Regions from separate parts of the Homo sapiens genome. Here region 2 is linked to region 1. Evidence: promoter capture Hi-C in 16 types of primary human blood cells and fetal thymus (Javierre and others, 2016). All regions are on one chromosome and are shown on one strand. Each heading gives the region's core, a stretch centred on a gene start or on the middle of the fragment in contact. The rest is flanking DNA. Distances are from core to core; before and after follow the strand shown. Region 1 holds the start of MAP3K7 (mitogen-activated protein kinase kinase kinase 7). Region 2 overlaps RWDD2A (RWD domain containing 2A).

The links. The method cuts DNA at HindIII sites, captures the fragments that hold promoters and counts their contacts. A CHiCAGO score of 5 or more calls a contact.
Region 2: a fragment that was not itself captured here is called in contact with the fragment with the promoter of MAP3K7 in region 1 in 1 of 17 cell types (non-activated CD4 T cells); the score reaches 7.3 in non-activated CD4 T cells.

What each region holds. Positions count from the first base shown.
Region 1 is chr6:90,585,766-90,588,465 of GRCh38, reverse strand. It overlaps MAP3K7 (mitogen-activated protein kinase kinase kinase 7), which reads left to right and starts at 1,394. Exons shown (of 17, transcript NM_145331.3): 1 at 1,394-1,702. The coding sequence starts at 1,583. LOC124901363 (a long non-coding RNA gene) reads right to left here and starts at 1,672. Exons shown (of 2, transcript XR_007059680.1): 1 at 511-1,672. RefSeq lists silencers at 1,262-1,458, 1,455-1,574. The HindIII fragment of the contact is 2,842 bases long and covers 963-2,700 here.
Region 2 is chr6:83,195,364-83,198,063 of GRCh38, reverse strand. RWDD2A (RWD domain containing 2A) reads right to left here. Exons shown (of 3, transcript NM_033411.5): 3 at 1-2,469. The coding sequence ends at 1,792. Among named protein-coding and RNA genes, the nearest start is that of RWDD2A, 3.4 kb to the right of the region's middle. The HindIII fragment of the contact is 1,829 bases long and covers 427-2,255 here.

The DNA.
Region 1 (2,700 bases), core at 145-2,644:
CAACCAACTGGGTGATGGCATCCTTAAGTGACATAGGAAAATAACATAGGAATATATTTGTGGTGGGTGACAACTTTTGAATTTGCTGTGGTATCTTGAAGTTTAGGTGTTTGTCTAAGTAGAGATGACCAATAGGTCCAGAATTCAGGAAAAATCTTGAGTATTTGGAGATTAGGAGTCATCATTATAAAAATAGTATGAGAAACAGAGACCTTGGGTAAGAGCATGCAAAGAGAGAGTGTACAGTGAAAAGAAATTATCGTTTCTTTCATTTTTTTATCCACTCATCAAACTGTCACTGCGTGTCACTAGAACTACGAATAAAAAGTGACAGAATGTTTCCCAGGAGTTTGTAACTTCTTGATGGTCAAATCCAATGATCTATTTGCAATCCCAAATGTGTTTAACATAATTCCACAGTTAGGCTTTATGTCAAACGGACTATATAAAATTCAACAGTTAGTTTAAAACTAAAACTTGTGCTGGTAGTACAACATGAGCAATACTGACCATCTTGGGGACAGAATGATCTAGTTTGTGAGGACCATAATTGCTTTAAACTCTCAGCGTGTTTTCTCATGTCCTGAAAATGGTGACAAAAATATTCGATTTTCAAGGCGACTGTTGATGATTCATTTACCAATCTAAAGCACTAGTGCCCCGCACTCGTAATCCATAACTTGAGATGAACACACCAAATTATAAATATCTTATTCACCTAATCCGTGGAAAGTTTGTAACACCAAAATATTAACTTCTGTTCTTGATCACTCAGCCTCCATAGTTATTCATGTTGCATGATCTGATTCGCTCTTTTAGAATTTCTCATAGCGTCAGGTACTAGCTCAAAATAACAGGAGCAACTGCTTCTTTCCATATCCCACATTGAGGAAAACACATTTTGCAAGCCGTCTTAAAGAAACAGGTCAACTTAGTTTAGGGATGAAACTTAAAAGTAAGCTTCGTCACAAAAAACACAGTTCAACACCACCTCGCCCGGCTGCAGGCAGCTCAGAGGACAGGAAGTGAGGCCAAGACATATTTCACGCAGCACAGACTAAACCCCAGCTTTTATCTTTCCCGCTGGTCCTTAAGGGACCAACCGTACTGATTTTCCGTCATGTTCCGCGCCACTTCCGTTCGCGCACTTTAATTACGTCAGGCGTCCTCTCTCGCGGTATCATCCGGTTGCTGAGGCCCTGTAATAAAGGTCTCGCGAAATTTGTTCTAGAGGTCCAAGTTTGCTTCTTAGCTTACTCCACCCCACCCCCAACCTGTCCCTCCTTTTCTTTCCAAGTCACAAAATTCTCCCCTCCCCTACCCCGGAGTTTACGGCCCTCCTCCTGTTTCCGATTTCAGCCCGGAACCGGAAGTGTAGTGGGCGGGGCCCGTCGGCGGAAAACGCAGCGGAGCCAGAGCCGGACACGGCTGTGGCCGCTGCCTCTACCCCCGCCACGGATCGCCGGGTAGTAGGACTGCGCGGCTCCAGGCTGAGGGTCGGTCCGGAGGCGGGTGGGCGCGGGTCTCACCCGGATTGTCCGGGTGGCACCGTTCCCGGCCCCACCGGGCGCCGCGAGGGATCATGTCTACAGCCTCTGCCGCCTCCTCCTCCTCCTCGTCTTCGGCCGGTGAGATGATCGAAGCCCCTTCCCAGGTCCTCAACTTTGAAGAGATCGACTACAAGGAGATCGAGGTGGAAGAGGTGAGCGAGGCCCGGCATGGAGACGCCGGTCCCGGCCTGCCCCGCCCCCGCCTCTGCCTGGTGCCGGCTCTGAAGGTGCCTCCCGGGGCCCCTCTAATTCGCGGGACCCTGCGGGGTCCACCCGGGAGACCCCACAGCCCTCAGTAACGTGGGAGTGGGGGTTACTCTCTGAGCTCAACTGCTCGGGAGTAGCTGCCTTTTTTCCTCTCTTGGGTACTCTTGATTTTGGATTTGATATTCCGGTGATAAACAGGAGAATGAACTGGTGAGATAGTGTGGTCCACCAGTTCTCGTATCTGTAAGTAGTAGTTTCAGCGAAGATCGTAGCCGTTCTGGAGTTTCAGTCCGCTGGACGTAATGTTCTTTTTTTTTTTTTTTTTTTTTTGAGACGGAGTCTCGCTCTGTCGCCCAGGCCGGACTGCGGACTGCAGTGGCGCAATCTCGGCTCACTGCAAGCTCCGCTTCCCGGGTTCACGCCATTCTCCTGCCTCAGCCTCCCGAGTAGCTGGGACTACAGGCGCCCGCCACCGCGCCTGGCTAATTTTTTGTATTTTTAGTAGAGACGGGGTTTCACCTTGTTAGCCAGGATGGTCTCGATCTCCTGACCTCATGATCCACCCGCCTCGGCCTCCCAAAGTGCTGGGATTACAGGCGTGAGCCACCGGGCCCGGCCGGACGTAATGTTCTTAATGGCCAAAGATTGTATTATATTCGACTTCTACTTCAGTACCTGGCATGTAGGGGATGCTCAATAAATGCTTGTTAAATTAGTAGATCATCAAGTCTAATAAAGTGTTTCCCTTAGCACCGAATGGTTCTCAATTTCTCCGATACCGCACAGCAATACTCGTAATGTTTAAATGCTCGGCTTTCAGTTGGGCTAATGTAGGTGAATTTCACCATAAGTAACATAGACTGGTCTACGATCAAAAGATGTTTCAAGTAGCATATTCTGAAGAGATAACGAATGATTTCGGTGACAATCAGAATATAATATT
Region 2 (2,700 bases), core at 92-2,591, 7.4 Mb after region 1:
TTAAGAAGTGATTCCTTGGCAATGTAAGTCCTATTTCTTCCCTTTGCATATAGGCAAAGTGTCAGGCTCCAGCCTGAGTTCCAGCACAACCAAGGCTAGGATGGAAACATGAATGGCAAGCTGGAGGACCTGGCGGGGCAGGCCTACAGCGAGCCATGGGTTGAAGATCTGAGTTGTGCCCTGAGAGGACACTCATTGTGACCTAAGAAGAAAGAGGCAGTACAAAGTGGACCCAGTTCTAACACCTCCTTGGGATAGGGCCTCCTGCTCCATCATGTCCTCTCTGTAGCCCAAGGACACGTCTGCATCCACGGCACAGAGGGTAAAACCAGATGGTAGTTTCATCAGAAGTTCTGTAGGCTCCCCAGCACAAGCAGCACTGTCTGACATCTAACAGGATGTGTTCCTAAATCCCAGCACCAAGCTTTGGCATCTTGAGAGGACCCAGTAGGAGAATGGAATGCCTCCCGGGAAAGGGCAGCAGTAGCTGACCACAGAAACACGGAAAGCTGCAGAGGCTGCTCAAGACATCTCTTAGCACATGAGACTCGCAGAAATACTTGGGGAGGGATGGAGACCTGGTAATGAAAAGGCTTGGCAAGAGCTACTTAAATAGCGGTTTTTAATCATTAAAATAAACTCTCATTTTGAAAAGCCTGGTGAAGCCTGTGGAGCTTGGAATTTTCAGAGGAGATGGCAGTAACATCATCGGACTGTAGAATTAGATTTTTTTTTTCCCAATAAGGTAATGATGCAGATATCCACACTGGTCCCCTCAACAGTCTCTTGCCCTTTATAGTAATGCATACTGGCACACAGGCAAAGGTTGGATTGAAACAGGCGAATACTTTGTAGACAAGGAACCATGTGTTTATCTTTTCTGGATAAGAATTAAACTAATACTGGTATCAGGATTGCTAGTATCATGAACTGATATAAACAGCCAGAACACATAGCATTGTGTGTCATCTTTTAACTCGTGGGACTTCATGTCTATGAGTCCTTTGCCACTGCTATTAGGATCTAGTTTTACTAAAACACTCGAAATAGGAGTTTAAAGTAAGAAATGAAGTAAACGGGCTGGGCGCGGTGGCTCACACCTGTAATCCCAGCACTTTGGAAGGCCGAGGCAGGCAGATCACGAGGTTAAGAGATTGAGACCATCCTAGCCAACATGATGAAACCCTGTCTCTACTAAAAATATAACAATTAGCTGGGCGTGGTGGCGCACGCCTGTAGTCCCAGCTACTTGGGAGGCTGAGGCAGGAGAATCGCTTGAACCTGGGAAGCTGAGGATGCAGTGAGCCGAGATCGCACCGTCTCAAAAAAGGAAGTAAACATGTCCTTCCTGTTCTCATTTTAAACTTGATTTAGATTTCCAATAATGAAAGACAAGTGGGTGTGTCACATGTGTGCTAGCAATGTGAAACAAATGCTATTCATATTTCTCAATTCATAATTGCAGTTTGATTTTTGATGTTAGTTATGGGCTTTGGATTCCTCTTCAATCAAATCAGCTTCACAAGTTAAATGGATTGTTTTTATTAATTTACAATGAAATAGTTTTTGAATGACTTCACACAAAAACCTAGAGATAACATCACAATTGCAATGTTATAAAGTTTAAAGGCCTATTCATTTCACTGTCAGTTGAAATTCGTTACCAGGTGAAAATTCTGGAGCTGGGTTTTGCACTGAGGATGCTACACAGCCACTAGCCTTTTTAATTTGGTCTTATTAACAGAAATACTGACTTAGTGAAATTACAGGCATAGGCCTCTTAATCGCTTTTTATGAGTCTGAACTTTTGCTTTCAATACCAAATAGTATCTGAAAAACATGCTCACTTTTGTGCTTCTTGAGAAATTCTAAGAATTGGCCCAGATTCATGTGATAGTCATTCCTTAATCCATAGTCACCATGAGCCTCAAGGAGTAACTCTTCAAAAGAATGGAAAAGGCGCAGGTCCTCACCATTTCCTTCTGTCTCCACGCTTTCAGCATGCTTACAGGAAATGTGCTTCCAATTGGGGTACCTAATTGTGTGCCAGAACTCCTCACAGTGCTCTTTGAAACCCTCCACACAGATTATACCAGGCTTTCCTGTCATGCAAAATCCAGTCACATCTAACCTTTTCCCAACATCCAAAATCTTTTTCCTTAGGTCCTGCTGATATATATGGTGACTGTAGATCCACATTCGGAGGAATGTGTTCTTGACTGGCTTTGCTTGTGTAGATGGTTCATATACAAGCTTTCTGTTCAGGAAATAAGATGCACTGTTGTCCTGTAGCCACTGGATTGCTGCACATACACAGAGCTCACCTGGATCAAAAGTCCCTATGTAAGAAGTGAGACCTTTGTTGAGAAGTAGCTGCTGATGTCTGTCAAGTTCAGATGACCGTCCAAACAGCTGCAATGCTACATAGGGGTAGCTGTGAGGCATGGTCACTTGCAAATCAATTTTCACCTTAAAATGAAAATCAAATAGATTTAAATACCATAACATCACATAAGCTAGTTTATCAATAGCAACTGCATGATTTTGAGAAATGTTATTGCTACTATTAAATGTACCAGGTACTTTACATACATGATTGCTTCCTTTTATGCATTATTTCAATATTTATTGAACAACTACGTGTGCCAGGTGCCCTTGTGCTGGGATAAAAAAGTGAATAAACCAGACACTATTTTTGCC